Linked DNA regions of Homo sapiens: all the other regions are linked to region 1. Evidence: promoter capture Hi-C in human tissues and cell types (Jung and others, 2019). All regions are on one chromosome and are shown on one strand. Each heading gives the region's core, a stretch centred on a gene start or on the middle of the fragment in contact. The rest is flanking DNA. Distances are from core to core; before and after follow the strand shown. Region 1 holds the start of FOXF1 (forkhead box F1). Region 2 has its middle 59 kb from the start of FENDRR. Region 3 overlaps MTHFSD (methenyltetrahydrofolate synthetase domain containing).

The links. Contacts are between HindIII fragments. The study calls those that stand out against the background at their distance.
Region 2: a contact is called between a fragment that was not itself captured here and the fragment with the promoter of FOXF1 in region 1, in 2 of the 25 tissues and cell types used here (bladder and pancreas).
Region 3: a contact is called between a fragment that was not itself captured here and the fragment with the promoter of FOXF1 in region 1, in 2 of the 25 tissues and cell types used here (lymphoblastoid cells and pancreas).

The regions. Positions count from the first base shown.
Region 1 is chr16:86,507,574-86,512,700 of GRCh38, forward strand. FOXF1 (forkhead box F1) reads left to right here and starts at 2,954. Exons shown (of 2, transcript NM_001451.3): 1 at 2,954-3,975. The coding sequence starts at 2,997. It overlaps FENDRR (FOXF1 adjacent non-coding developmental regulatory RNA), which reads right to left and starts at 1,287. Exons shown (of 4, transcript NR_033925.1): 1 at 1,082-1,287. RefSeq lists an enhancer at 4,447-5,127. The HindIII fragment of the contact is 9,827 bases long and covers 1-5,127 here.
Region 2 is chr16:86,447,712-86,452,838 of GRCh38, forward strand. No RefSeq gene overlaps it. Among named protein-coding and RNA genes, the nearest start is that of FENDRR, 59 kb to the right of the region's middle. The HindIII fragment of the contact is 3,146 bases long and covers 683-3,828 here.
Region 3 is chr16:86,544,124-86,549,250 of GRCh38, forward strand. MTHFSD (methenyltetrahydrofolate synthetase domain containing) reads right to left here. Exons shown (of 8, transcript NM_001159377.2): 4 at 4,341-4,454; 5 at 2,436-2,526. Among named protein-coding and RNA genes, the nearest start is that of MTHFSD, 8.5 kb to the right of the region's middle. The HindIII fragment of the contact is 8,046 bases long and covers 1-5,127 here.

The DNA of each region.
Region 1 (5,127 bases), core at 1,704-4,203:
GGGGAAGGGAGATGCTATTTCCACTTTCAGCGAGCCGCAGCGTGCGCCCTGCACCCCTAGCTGGCTTAAGAGCTGTGCAGCCTTCTCTGCTCACCTCTGCTAAGGGCCAGATGTGCTCTGGCAGTCGGCAGTAGCGACCCCTTCCTGGGAACAGAACTTTCCTCCGGAGGCCAGGGTCTCCTCATCTGCAACTGCCATTTGCCACACACACACACACAAAAGTTGGGAGAGAATGTGAGAATGCTTGTGTTCGTGGACGCGTGCGCACGTATGGAGCGGCGGTACCTATGATTATTTGCGCGTGGCGCCTGGCTATGCGTGGGCGAACGCGCAGTGGAGAACATGTGGGCGTGCATGAAGTGTGCACTTAAACCAAAGTGTGCCCTCCCCGTTGGGCAGGCCTGTGTGTTGGTCCAAGGGTTGGGAGCGCCTGAGCTGTGTGAGGGTCGCTGGGAAGGGTGTTTGAGGCCGTGGGCGGTGCGGAGCGTGTCTGTGTGCGCGGAGGCTGAGCTGGTTGTGTGAAGTGGTAGCGGGTCTGCCAGAGAGCGTTTACCTGCGTGAATGCACAACCACACACTACGGGTCACGTCCCACACTCATTCTTTCCCTAGGCGGGCCAGGCTGTCTGCACGCGGAGACCCAGAGAGGCCAGCGGAAGGGCAGCGCGGGAAGGCGGCTCTCTTCTCCCGCGAGCGCAGATCTGGCGGAGGAGGCGGCGACTGCCCGGCAGGCTGCGCCGGCGAGCCCCCCAGCTCCTCTCACCGACGTGCCAGGCGCCCCGAAGGCGACAGGCGTCTCCCGCCGAAAATGAAGGCGTCCGAGCCAGGAAGGTGGGGGCGGGTAGTTAGCGGGAGACAAGGAGTCCGGAGAAAACCGAGAGGCGGGTAGGCTTTGAACGCGCCGCGCCGCGGGCCGTGCTGCGAGCCCGGCACACGCCTCTCGCCCCAGCTCGCGCTGGGGCTTGGCCTCTAGGCTCTTCGCGATGACCCGCGAAAACACCCCTCGCCCCCCTCTTCTCAACTCGGAACCCTGGAGGGAGAGGCCGCGCCCGGCCAGCAGTCGCTGCGAGAGCAGCACTCACCTGGGTCTGTGCGCGCCGCGATGCGCCGGGGCTCCTGCGCTGTCCTGCGCTCCGCTCTCGGCACCACCTTTCGTGGCTCCACCGCCCCCAGCCCGCACCCGAGCGCTGAGGTGGCAAGGGCAGGTCTGCGTGCGAGCCCCCTGCGGGCTGGCAGCCAGGTGCGCGAGGGCCGCCCTTGCCGGCGCTCCCAGCCCGCGCTGTCTGCTCTCAGGAACCTGGCCTGGCGCGCAGTGTCAGAGGCCCCGCGGCGGCGGCAGGCCGAGCCCACAGGGGCATTAGGCCAACTCCCCCCTCCCGCCCTGCGCACGCGGAATTCTCTATTATTATTATTAAAGAATCCCCCAGAACTTGTTTACGTTAAACCCTGTAAACTTCCTGCCAGGGCCTTTGCCATCTCTCGGGAAATCGGAACCTGCGCTTTGAAAACGGGGCCGCGGGGCCAAATAGGCGGGTTTTCAGTGTGTGTTGGGGGTGGGGGAGGGCAACTGAACTACGTGTGAGTTCAGATCCGAGCGTGGCGTGTGTACGCGTGAGTGGGAGTGAGTGCGAACTTAAGCTCCTGTGGGCCTTAAGCTTCCGTGTCAACGAGTGCATTAGTGGGTGCGCACATGCCTGAGCGCCCTCTGCATATGAGTGTGCACACACGCATGGGTGTGTTTACACGTCTGTTTGCGTAATTTACCGGGTTTGCATGTGCATCAAGACATGTATGTGTGTGCTAATGTGTGGACAAGAGCGCGAGGGTGTGCGCGCACGGGTGAGTGACTGAGCACGCCGCTTATTCAGGGGCCTGTGCGGTCTGGGTCGCCTCTGGGCCAGCGGGTTCTCACTCGCCCCCGTCAGGCCCGCGGCGCCCGAGACAAAGCGGCCGCGACTCGTGCTGCGCTTTCGTTTTCCGCCTGCGCTCTGCCCCGGCGGCTGCCCGCCCGCTCGCAAGCTGCTGGGCGAGTCCGAAAAATCCCGGGAGCGGCGCAGTTCTTCCCGGGGCGGGGAGAGTGGGTAGGCGGTCCCTCGCGGGAACTTAGCCGGCCGGCCGCGAGGACCGGAGTCGAGCCGGCTGTGCCTGCGATGGTCACGACCGGGAGGCCGCCGCACTTGCGATTTGCTACAGGGCTGTGCGCGTCGGGGAAGGCCCCGGCCCAGGGAGCGTTTCCCGCCGCGCCGCCCGGGCGGGGAAGGCGGGGTCCAGCGCGCACCGGGGCTGAACCGCGGGCGGAGGGCGCATTAACACTTGCTCGCCAGGTTGGTGGAGGCGGGGCGGATTCTGCTGGCGGCCGCGGGGCGGCGAGAGTGGGGGCTCTTTAAGCGCCCACCAACGCGGGGGCCCGAGGGGGGCAGGGACGGAGGGAGGGAACTCCGGGAGGGTCTTAGGCCGACCCGCGAGACGCAGCCGAGCGGAGATGGAGTGAAGGCTGCCTCGCCCGGAATCTCGGAGCCGAGCGCCGCGGGCGGCGGGGACTCAGGGCTGCTCCCGGCTGGGGCGCACGGCCGTAAGACCTGGAGGTGGTGCCTCCCCCCAAAAAATACCGGCGGGGGTAGCTTCCTCACGGCCTTCGCCCGGGCTGCCCTCGGCCTCAGCTCGGCTCCTTTCCTTGTGGGAGGGCGAGAAAGAAAGAGGGAGGAGAGAGGTGGGGGAGGCGGGAGTTGGAGAGAGAGGGGCTCTGAGCCAACCGCCGGCGGATCCAGCAGCTCCTCGGGGAGGGCGGGCGGGAGCGCGGGGGCGGGCGCGCCGCGGCTCGCTCGGGAGAAGTGGCCGCCGATGACGGCAGAGGTGCAGCCAGCCCCGCGCGCGCAGCCCCCTCCCCTTCGCCCTCCTCCCCCCCGTCGTCCTCTTCCTCCTCCTCCTCCTCCTCCTCCCGGCCCGTCCGCGGCGCAGAGCAGCGGCGGCAGCGGCGGCGGCGGCAGCAGCCACCCGATGTCTTCGGCGCCCGAGAAGCAGCAGCCACCGCACGGCGGCGGCGGCGGCGGCGGCGGGGGAGGCGGCGCGGCCATGGACCCCGCGTCGTCCGGCCCGTCCAAGGCCAAGAAGACCAACGCCGGCATCCGGCGCCCGGAGAAGCCGCCCTATTCCTACATCGCGCTCATCGTCATGGCCATCCAGAGTTCACCCACCAAGCGCCTGACGCTGAGCGAGATCTACCAGTTCCTGCAGAGCCGCTTCCCCTTCTTCCGGGGCTCCTACCAGGGCTGGAAGAACTCCGTGCGCCACAACCTCTCGCTCAACGAGTGCTTCATCAAGCTACCCAAGGGCCTTGGGCGGCCCGGCAAGGGCCACTACTGGACCATCGACCCGGCCAGCGAGTTCATGTTCGAGGAGGGCTCCTTTCGGCGGCGGCCGCGCGGCTTCCGAAGGAAATGCCAGGCGCTCAAGCCCATGTACAGCATGATGAACGGGCTCGGCTTCAACCACCTCCCGGACACCTACGGCTTCCAGGGCTCGGCCGGCGGCCTCTCGTGCCCGCCCAACAGCCTGGCGCTGGAGGGCGGCCTGGGCATGATGAACGGCCACTTGCCGGGCAACGTGGACGGCATGGCCCTGCCCAGCCACTCGGTGCCCCACCTGCCTTCCAACGGCGGCCACTCGTACATGGGCGGCTGCGGCGGCGCGGCGGCCGGCGAGTACCCGCACCACGACAGCTCGGTGCCCGCCTCCCCGCTGCTGCCCACCGGCGCCGGTGGGGTCATGGAGCCGCACGCCGTCTACTCGGGCTCGGCGGCGGCCTGGCCGCCCTCGGCGTCCGCGGCGCTCAACAGCGGCGCCTCTTATATCAAGCAGCAGCCCCTGTCCCCCTGTAACCCCGCGGCCAACCCCCTGTCCGGCAGCCTCTCCACGCACTCCCTGGAGCAGCCGTATCTGCACCAGAACAGCCACAACGCCCCAGCCGAGCTGCAAGGTGAGTGGGGAGGCCGAGGGCGCCCTGGTCCCCGGGAAGTCGAGTCTGAGTGGCAGCGGGACCCAGCTGGGGCGAGCCCCTCCACTTCTGTGGTCGGAACCCCAAGGCTGAGGGGAGGCACCAGCTCCCCAAGGTGTCTCTTGGCCCCACCTCTCCCCCTTCGAAGAGTGACTACCGCTCTTGACCCTAGTTTGGGCCAATCTGTTTCTCTTTCTGTTCGAACTCCAGCTGCCAGCTGCTCCAGGCCTGACCAGGTAGGCTGGTCCTGAGCCAGATGTCCCAGACCCCAGTGCCCTAAGTCCTTTTGTGTCCCTTAAGTCCCCTCACAGCTTGGAAAGATCCTGGGATGGACCCAAGGCTCCCAGCGCTGGCCAGATGGCTGTCCCTCCCTGGTGGTGGCCCTCAGGCTGCCTGGAGGGCTGCCTCTGCCTGGGGCTGGGCGGAACGGAAGGTGTTAGGCCCAAAGCCGCTGGGCCAGCGCTCAGAGGCTCAGCCCCGGCCTTTCAGGGGACCAGACCTGGCAGACCCACAGCTGAGTCCAGGGGCATTTTGTGGTGACTGAGGCAGGAGGGTGCCGTGGCCAGGCCCCGGAGGGTCAGAGCTGCAGACCGGGCCATGGGGGCTCCTTGTTTTTTAGGATCCAAGTTTTCAGGTCCCCACACCCCCAACACCCCTGATACCCCAATACCCCGAACATGCAGAAGCATCTGCCAAGGGAGATGCAGCAGCCTCGCCTCCTGATTCTGCCCCAGGCCCCCCGCAGCCTGCAGGCCCAGCTCTGGAAAAAGCTGGAGTGAGCTTGCCAGGGCCAGTCCAGGGTCAGCTGTCAGCAGCCCCAGGAGGCAGGAGCCAGGCCTGGAGGCCTTAGGCAGCCTCTCTGCGGGGGACTCCCCGGCTCCGGGGCCTGTTCTCTGGAGAAGCTTCTTCTCACCCCTGCTGCTGGCCCGGCGCTGGCCCTGCACTGGCCTCTCCTTCAACCCCGCCGGCAGTCGTAGCCTCTGAGGTTGGGGGTGGTGGTGGCTGCCCTGGCGGTGACGGCCATGGGCGTTAGGGGCCCTCCACTTGGTCTCCCTCACCACTTCCCCTATGGCTCTGGAAGCCCTGGGCCCCTGCACGGTGTCCGAGGCTGGACAGGCACGCAGCAGGCAGGCA
Region 2 (5,127 bases), core at 1,006-3,505, 61 kb before region 1:
GCTTGGGAAGTCACATAGCATCATTTCTGCCATCCTCTGGTGGTCCAAACAGTCACAAACACTTGCTGAATTTCAGGAACAGGGACATCAACCACATCCGTTAATATGAAGACTGTCAGAGTCACATGTGTGATGGGAAATATTGTTGCAGCCATCTTTGGAAGATGAGATTGGCCATAAAGAGACAGAGCAGTAAGCAGACATGTTGCATTGCAGTGCAATGGCTGCAAATGTCCAGGTAAGGATGGCTCCCAGGAAAACAGAAAGACTGGGCCCCTAGACCAGTGAGGAACCTAGGAAGTCTTCCCAGAGGAGGTGAGGCAGGGACCTGAAAGGTGGGCAAGCAGCAGTTGGCTGGACAGGGTGGGACCTGGGGGGCAGTCTCAGCAGAGGGAGCCATCCGTGCCACGCTCAGGAGGCGGGAGAAGGGGTGCACATTCTGCAAAAGGCTGAAATTCCAGGGCAACAGAGTCCAACCAGCCTCCGCCACAGTATCTTAGGTTTCTTAAGCTCCCAGTCCACTGCATTGCAAGCTTTAATAACTACAATCGTTTCTACTTTATGCAATGAACCCAGACTAGTAAGTTGTGTAACTTCCGCCCCTGGGGTCCTCGATTTGTTCATGTAATTCCACGGAACTCATTATCCTGAAATGGACTCTGTGTCTAGATCATGGATCCATAAACTTTTTCTGCAAAAGGCCACATAGTAAATAGTTTAGCCCTTGTGGGGCACACAGTCACTGACACAATTACTCAACTCCTTCTTTGTAGCAGAAAAGCAGCCAGAGACAAGACGTAAATAAATGTACATGGCTATGTTCCAATAAAGCTTTATTTACAGAAACAGGTGGTAGGCTGGATTGGGCCTGTATTTTGCCAGTCCCTGGTCTAGACTGAAGTTTGTTCTGGTGAGAACTTGAGTCCCTGCTTCTGCCACTTACTCTGAACATGCCGTTTAAGCTCTCTGAAGCTGTTTCCTCTTCTGCAAAATATTTTGGGTTTAGTGAGTCACCATACTGTCTCTGTCACAGCTACTCGACTCTGCCATCGTAGAGTTGGACTAAACCCCTTCATCACCCAGGGCGGGAGCAAACGAGATGAAAAGTGTGAACATTGTGCAGCACTAGGATTTCGAGATGCGGACCTGGCTTTAAAGTGCATACACTTTAGGGACAGTGCACACTTTCTAGTTATGACCTCGAGCTACACATCCCTGAGGCTCAGGCTCCTCTAGCATAAAATGGGAATGAGAACATTGACCACATGACGTTGTAGGAGGATTCAATGAGAGTGCACGGCCCCAGATTATTGGGGGATGATTCCCTGAGGCCACTTATGGGGGTCACAGCGGACGCCCTGTTTGGGGGAGTCAACTAGGTGCTGGGAAGTCCATTGGAAGGTGTATGAGCCACCTCCCTAAGTGGGGGTGCAGCGGGTTGAGCTCGGACTCTCTGGGCAACCCCTCTGGGTAGATCTATAATTCTTTGAGGACTTAGTCTCTGTTTATCTAATTTCCTTGGTTCTAAGATGCATATTGAGCACCTTTTAACCTTTTTGAAATCCAAGTGCCTCTACCCATCAATACTTGCATTTGATGCGATCACATTTCTTCACTTTCACCACAATAAAAGCAGTCATCAAACTGATGGAAAAACAGAGATACGGAGGCATACTGACCCCAGATCTAACAGGGACATCATGCTCGAGGTAGCCCCACGTCTGGGCTGTCCGGCTGTGGTTGCTGGCTGAGGATAGAGGCCCCCAGGCCCTGAGGCCCCTCTGTGCTTGTTTCACCCCGTGGTCAGAGTTCAGGATCAGGCTGTGGCCAAGGAGGAGGGACGGATGCTGGGCTGCGAGGAGCCTTCACACCCAGACACCCGCTTCCTCCACGGGGCAGGCGCTTCCTCTCTTTGAGCACGCAGACGTCCCCCTCCTCTGCTAAGGAAGACAGGGTGCCAACCCCCGCGTGGAGAATGGGACATTCCTTTAAGACAAGCCAGCTGTTTTACAGCTCTGCTCTGGAGGCCTTCAAAAACATAAAGGCTCAAGAATCAAAGGCTTCCTGTTATAAATTCACTTCTACACCTCAGGTACTTTGTGGGTTGGGGAGGCAAAAACAAGATTTAGTGAAAATTGGTAGAAAATGCTCTATAAATACCCTTCTTGTGGGAGGAGAACCCGTGGGCTGGTCTCGGAGGGCGGGTGGAGAACGGCTTTGTGTTTGCCTAGGATGTTTGGAAGACATTTTGCACTTTCTGACATTAGTATTTTTGTTGTTCTAAAATCTTCGGTGCCTTCAAACTTTAATTTGGGGAGTTATTGAGAATCATGTGCATGAAAATAAATTTAAAATGTATAATGGATCTTTATAATCGACATCCTCATCTTAAAGATGAGAGAAACAAGACCCAAGATGCTGAAGGGCAGGCTTCGGCCACCAGCTGGGCACAGACAAGACAAGAAGATCTAGAGATTCTCCTCAAAGGCTCCAGAAAATAGAGCCAGGCTCGTGGGCACAGCAGCACAGCGCTGATTACAGAAGTGATGCATGTTGATTGGAGAAAATTCAGAATATTTCTAAGAGCCCAAAGAGGAAAATCAGAACTGCCTGGGACACAGCATCTACAGACAAGCCCTATGGGGTTTGACGTCTGCTCTTTTTTCTGGGCCTGGACTGATCTAGTTGATGATACAGAACTAGACACAGAATGGAGGTTGTCACGATGGCTCGCACACACCTGACTATACTTGCAGCCCAGGTACCCAGTCCCCCACCCAGCTCCGGCCCCAAATGCCTCTGCTCCTCACCTAAGGGTGTCTCCTGACCAGGGGAATCTGATCAGCGCACACACAGGACAGCCCAGCAGAAGCAGGGACTGGATATCCCTGAGGGCAGCTCTCATTCCTGCAGTGAGGAGTCAGTGAGTAAAAACCTGAGGTAGTCACTGTCAGTACTCCCTGTCCCAATTCCTCTCAGCCTTACCTCTTCTGTGAACGGGGAACCAAACTCCAATTCCGACTCCTGCATTTCATGGCCTGTGGGCTCTCTCTGCCTCCAGAGACCCCATTCCCACCTGTGAGCCAGACCAGAAATAGCAAGGAACTAACACCCACCCCAAGGAGGTGACCTCAAACATTGATTCATAGGAGCTGGGGTATCAATACCTCAACTCCCTTCCCCACCAGGTGGGATAATTCTGTTCTGGGAGGCTCCCAGAGTTTCCCTAGCAGGATTAAGCCACAGCCACCCACAGACATAACCTGCTCAATACAAACCCTTTATGGGCTGCTGTCCCTGCTGTTTTGCACACCAATCTCCAAAATGCATTGCTTCTGTCATCAGGGCTGCCCTGCTGTGCCCATGAGCCTGGTGTCTGGACCACCTCCTAAATATTATCTCTGCATCTCAGGGCCAGTTTCTGGGGGACCCCAAACTGAGAGAAAAACCCGTAGTGAGGCAAGGCTGGGGCATGTTTCCCAGGGTCCCCCCAGAGCTTTCCAGTGGGACTAAGCCCATGTGGCCCACTGTGTTCGTCCTCTTGTCAATGCTCCTGACTCAGCTTGTCCCCTCTCCTGCCTCGCTTTCCCCACTGCATCTCTTGGGATCATATCCCAAATAACCCCCTGCACCAAGTCCCTGTGGGATCTGCTCTGAGGGGAATTCAAACTTAGATGGATATTTATATAAATAGAAATAGATGGATATAGATGCTAAGATGGTTATGGATACAGACACAGCTATCAATGGATAAGATATAGACATAGATACAGATATGGATAGATAGATACGGATATAGGTACAGGCATAGATGGATGATGTAGACAGAGATAGAGGTACAGGTATGGATGGATATAGATATAGACACAGATACAGATATGGATAGTTAGAGATGGATATAGGTACTGGCATATATGGATGATGTAGACAGAGATGGAGGCATGTAGGGATATAAATATAGACAGATACAGATATGGGTAGATGGATATGAATCTAGGTACAGGCATAGATGGATGATATAGTCTGAGAGAGATAGAGGTATAGTTGGGTATAGACATAGATAGAGTTATAAGTTCATGGACACAAGTGGATTTGGATATGAACATAGAGCGGTAAATCGTAGTACCAATTGTTTTCAGCTGATGTTCATCCTAATTGGTCTACGCCCACATCTGTTATTAAATATGTTTAATCTCTCCCTTGGGTGTGTCTATAATGAGATACACAGATGAGCTCTCTGGGTTTCTGGAGCCCTGATGTCTGAGCAGGAGCCCAGCCCTGCTACTCCCAATATCCTTAAGTGAGCCACTTCATCTCTTTTCCTTGGCACATCACCTATTAAATGACTGGAGAACTCACCAATCATTTATAATCATATCTATGTCTACATCCTAAGTTTCTTGCATGTAGAAAGTCCTTAAATCCACCAGGCTCCCTTGTGGATTTAAGGACTTTATATGTGCCAGAAACCTTAGGACCTGACCTGTAGGAAGTGCTCAATAAATGTTAACTATTATCATTGTTATTACTACTCCTCTGTAGTTGTGATAAATGTAGCCCTCATTAAATACAGACTAACCACCAACTTAGTGGCCAACCCAGCCAGCTCCAAAAGCACTTGCGAGGAAGAATGAAAATCCATCTGGATTGTGAAAGAAACATCCATTTTACAGATAGTGCTCCTGAGGCTTTGTGAAAGACATTGCACATACAAGATTCGGGGTCAAGTGGGACAAAAACCTCATCTTGGTGTGTGCAGGATTCAGCTCCTGCCTTCATTCTGCCCCTCGCAAGACTTGCATGGCTGTGGGTTCTTTTTCCATCTATAAACCTGGGACTTCATTTCCCATTTGATTGTTGGCTCCTGAAACTCAACACAAGCCAGGATGACATGAACACCTCCTGTGCCAAGGAGACAGCTGGAACACATGCTCTGTGTTGAGTCAGCTGGCCCAGTGACCGCATGGCCCTGTGGTTCTGTGGGAAGAGAACATACTTCAGCAGCCCCCATGCCTAAACTTCTCCCTGTGGTGGTTTTCAATTGTGACTCCAAAATTCTACTGCATCCCTCCCCTGAGACATGGATTCTGCACCCTGCCCATTCAATCTGGGTAGGCTTGTGACTGC
Region 3 (5,127 bases), core at 1,266-3,765, 36 kb after region 1:
AGTACACAATAAATGTAATGTGCTTAAATTATCCTGAAACCGTCCCCTCCCTGGTCCATGGAAAAATTGTCTTCCATGAAACCGGTCCCTGGTGCCAAAAAGTTGGGGACCACTGCTATAACATATCTGTGTCTCGGCAAAAGAAACTATCATCAGAGTGAACAGAGAACCTACAAAATAGGAGACAATTTTGCAAACTATCTGTCTGACAAAGGTCTAATATCCAGAGTCTGTAAGAAACTGAAACAAATTTACAAGAAAAAAACCCAAACAACCCCAATAAAAAGTGGGCAAAGGGCATGAACAGACACTCCTCGAAAGAAGACATTTATACAGCCAACAAACATGGAAAAAAGCTCAACATCACTGATCATTAGAGGAATGCAAATCAAAACCACAATGAGACACCACCTCATGCCAGTCAGAATGGCCACAGATGCTGGCAAGGCTGTGGAGAGATAGGAACACTTTTACACTGTTGGTGGGAAGGTAAATTAATTCAACCATTATGGAAGACAGTGTGCTGATTTCTAGAGGACCTAGAACCAGAAATACCATTTGACCTAGCAATCCCATTACTGGGTATATACCCAAAGGATTATAAATCATTCTACTCTAAAGACACGTGCACATGTAGGTTCACTGTAGCACTATTCACAATAACAATGACATGGAATCAACCCAAATGCTCATCAACGATAGGCTGGATAAAGAAAATGTGGTACATATACACTATGGAATACTATGCAGCCATAAAAAGGAATGAGAGCATGTCCTTTGCAGGGACATGGATGGAGCTGGAAAACATTATCCTCAGCAAACGAACGCAGGAACAGAAAACCTAGCACTGCATGTTCTCACTCGTAAGTGGGAGCTGAACAATGAGAACATATGGACACAGGGAGGGGAACAACACATACTGGGGCCTGTCAGGGCAGGGGCAGTGGGAGGGAGAACATCAGGTAAAATAGCTAATGCATGCTGGGCTTAATACTTAGGTGATGGGTTGGTAGGTGCAGCAAATCACCATGGAACACGTTTACCTATGTAACAAACCTGCACATCCTACACATGTATCCCGGAACTTAAAAAAAAAAGATATCTGTGTCTCACACGCATGCTACTATGTACAACGTCTACACTAGGAACTCCTAATGGGGCAGCTGGGAAGGAACAGGGAAGACTTATGGTGCAGCTTTCTGTGCTGTTCAATTTTCTAAGCAGACACATGGTTACTTTACTACTTTACACAGGGGGTTAGCTAAACGATGAAACTTACGAAGTGTTACTTTCTTCTTTATACATCCCTGAACCTGATGATATTTTCCAAGAGGGGACCTTTGCTGATTTCCCACCACCAAGAGCCCAAGTCCCATCATCTGGCCTCAAGGCTGCTGAGAAGGGGCCGCAACCTAGTAAAGGGCCTGCTGCCTGAGGACCCTTCAGTCCCCTCTGCCTGGACTGTGGCCGGCATGCAGGAGCCAGCCCTGAGGCCGCTACTGAGGAGATGCCCCCTCCAGGCTGGCACGTCCCTCCTCAGACTCCCCTTCCCCCTCCCGTCGGTCCTGACTTGTGTCCAGCACTGAGCACGTCACGTCCTGTCCTGGTCCAGCTCTCGTGTCTGGCCCACCCACACACCATGCACTTAAAGACCACCCAGTGCCTGCCTGGCACACAGCAGGTGTAGCAGGTATACCAGAACAGTGCGCTCCTGAGTCCCCAGCCCCGATGACACAGACGAAGCACCAGAAACTGGGAATGCACTGAAAGCAAAGAATAAAGAACAATGTCCCCACATCAGCTCCAGTGGTGGCTGGGAAAAGAGGGCACCCTGAAGCTGGAGACAGCAAGAGGTGGTGTGGTGACCCTGCCCTCTTAGCAAGGGCCCCCTGGCCTTGTGGACCGAGAGCAGCCTGCCTCACATGCAGCGTGGCAAAGCACCAGGCCTGAGAAGAAGTCTCGGACACACCACGTTGTTCAGGAGTCTCGGACACACCACGTTGTTCAGGAGTCTCGGACACACCGTGTTGTTCAAGAGTCTGCTGCTTCATAATAAAAACAAAGCTTGGAACCTACTGTTTTTCCATTTGCTGGAGTCCCTCCAAAACCAACTATTTACTGACATACTGAAAAGAAATTAAGCTCCAGCTCACTCAAGAACAGAGAGAAAACCTTTCACCACCTGAACAGAGAGTTATCTCACTTTGTTTTTCCTGCTAAGAAAAGTGAAAATGCTGTACACATGTTGGGCTGGGGCCAGAAGCGGGTGGGCTGAGCCAATTCTTCACCTCTGAAAAATGCAGCGGCTTCGGAGACCAGGTAAGCGCATCCAGAAAGCAGACACCACTGGCGACTTTTGAAAGACAAACAGCCTGGCACGCAGCCGCCTTCAGGCAGAGCTGTCACACTCAAGGGTTCCCATCTGCTAGTCTTACCTTTTTCAGAAACGGCGACGGATCCCACCACAACTAAATCCACGAGGACTCTGGAGTCCAAGCCTATGGGGACACTGTAGTTCCTCACACCCTGCACACAGAGATACGGATTGGAAAACTTCAACTCCAGCTGCTTCCTCATTTTATAATTCATGATCAAAGTGCACTCAGGGTTTGAATCAACCTCTTGGACAAAACAGATGCAGGCACACGCAACACCGGAGATGTGGCGTTTCAGGAGAAGCCGCATTCCAGAAACCGCTTTAGGGCACAGTTTCCCCAGTCTCTTTCCCAGAAAGGCGGCCAAGAGGAACTCACAGCACAAATTCATAGGCTGCCAACTTCATAACATTTAACAAATCGTTTTTCCCCATAAGGCAGAAGAGCACAGTGGTGAAAACACAGGGGCAGAGTCCCAGGGAACTGGGTTCAGAGCCTCTGAGCCACAGGTCCCCAGCAGGCTGGAGCTCTCTGAGCCTCAGTTTCTTCAGCTGTAAGACAGGGACACCACCCTCTGCCTCGTCGGACCAGTGTTGGAATTAAATAACAAAACGTATGCATTTAGCACATAAGACATGGTCAGTAAACACTGTATGACATATTTATTCAATATAAAATCCTGAAGGCCACTATCTTTATGTACAATATACTCGCTTCTAAAAAATTATCCCTTCAACCAAAATGTCCCAAAAGTGTACCGCTTTATACTAATGCAGGCATGCATATAAAGAATAGGGAAGCTGAATATGTTCATGGTTCTCATAACACGGTTTATGTAAGACTCAGGAAAAAGCCATTTTCAGTCCCGTATCCAGCAGTAACTGATCATTCGATGTGGCGGTGGGATCTGCCTGCAGTGCTATGACAAGTTCCGTATGGATCAGTGCATACGGGTGGCTTGGGGGTCTCCCGACAGTCACAGAAGGGGGCTTAGTCCAGGAAACCCTGCACTGCAGGAAACCCTGTGTTCTCATCATCTCGCAGGGTCCACGGGGGCAGGCACTGACCAACTGCAAAGGAAGAGACGGCTTGCATTTGTGAATGCTGACCATCACCATGCTTTCGTCTCAGTTTTCTATCTTTCTTTTTCCTTTGCTCCTTTCTCTCTCTATATATATATTTTTTACTTTATTGTATGTATTTTTAGAAACCATATCAAATTCTATTTTTGGAATAAGCAGGGTGCTAATAAGTAAACAATGAAACGTTCCAGTTTTATACATTAGGCTTAAGTGGCAAATCCCATAAAAAAGCGTATCTTCAATTGTCTTATTTTTTCTTCTCAGTAGATTAAAAATTAAATGACTTGGAGTTTACCTTAAGATTCTTAAAAAAGTCACCAAATTCGACTTAACTGTAAAATACATGACCAATTTTATTATAATGCACCCTAAAGTCATATTTGTACACTTGGTTTTACTAAATTGTGAGGCATTCAAGAAAATCTTAAATATGTAATTATCAGCAATTACTCACTTAGAACTGGTGAGGCAATTTCCAATGGAGCATGTTTTGGAAATTCTATCCTGTCTCCCCAGTCGCTCTGGTGGCACCTGATGAACAGGCCGGGAATAAGAAAAAGCTCCACAATACTGAACATCGCAGGTTAACACCGGGCAGTGCCAGAGAACCAGATCACCCGTCTTCCCTTTTCTTACAATAAGGAATTTATAATTTGCCAATTTCGTGCAAAATAGAAACTGAGTTACAGAAATAGAATCTGTTTACTCAGTTTTCCCACGTGGCTCCATTAAGGACAGAATTCTTGAATACTTTAATATCTCTGTTCTTTTGGCTCTGTTAAAAATGAATTCCAACTGTGTGCTGCTATCTTATGCTAAGTCGTCAGAAGCCTTCACAGGGTACAGTTCTTTCCTAGGTGGGGACATTGCTTCTGGTACTTACCTGAGAGGTGGCACATTTTCTCAAGATGTCTTTAGTTGCCCCAGGGGGTGGTGTGATCTTATTAAACAATCCCGTTCTCAGTCGTGGTGTTGGAACCAACAATGTTTTTTTGCTCTTTTAAAGAAAAGACAATCAATAAATTACAAAATCAAATTATTCCATAGGACTTTCTTATATGTATTTTTACCATTTCAGGAGAAGAGGCAAATTACTATTATCCGCATGGTTTTTTTTGGTGTGTGCCAAGGAAATTACTTATTTGAAAACCTAATTAAATAATGTGTGGGGTCGATTTTTCTTAGAATCACCACTCGGCACCTCCTTACCCTGAAGAGCCAGAGGGTTTACTAAACTTGCTAATTTGATTTCACTTGCCATTCAAAATTGTTACAGGTAAAAACTGACAACAGAAATCCAAACTAAGGTCAGTTCTGACAAAATCCCAACCTCAACTTTCCTGTGCCCCCTCTGCTCTCAGCACCAAGTGCGACACAGTTACAATAATGCTGTCATTAGAAACTGGCATGGCATAGCTACCTTAGTTACTCAAACATTTCTATCTAGTTTGACTGTTCAGCAAATCACAGTCAAAGAGATCAGTAATCATGATAATCAATACACTGATACGTGCCAATAGCCCTTGACTTCTACTTAGTTCTCAAATGCCTATTGTGAGAACCTCTAGAACAGGGCTTCTCAAAGTGAGGGCCCTGGGCCAGCGCATCAGCGCTCCTGGCACCTGTTAGAAATGAATCAGCCCCTCTGGGGGTGGGGAGCTTCGATGAGC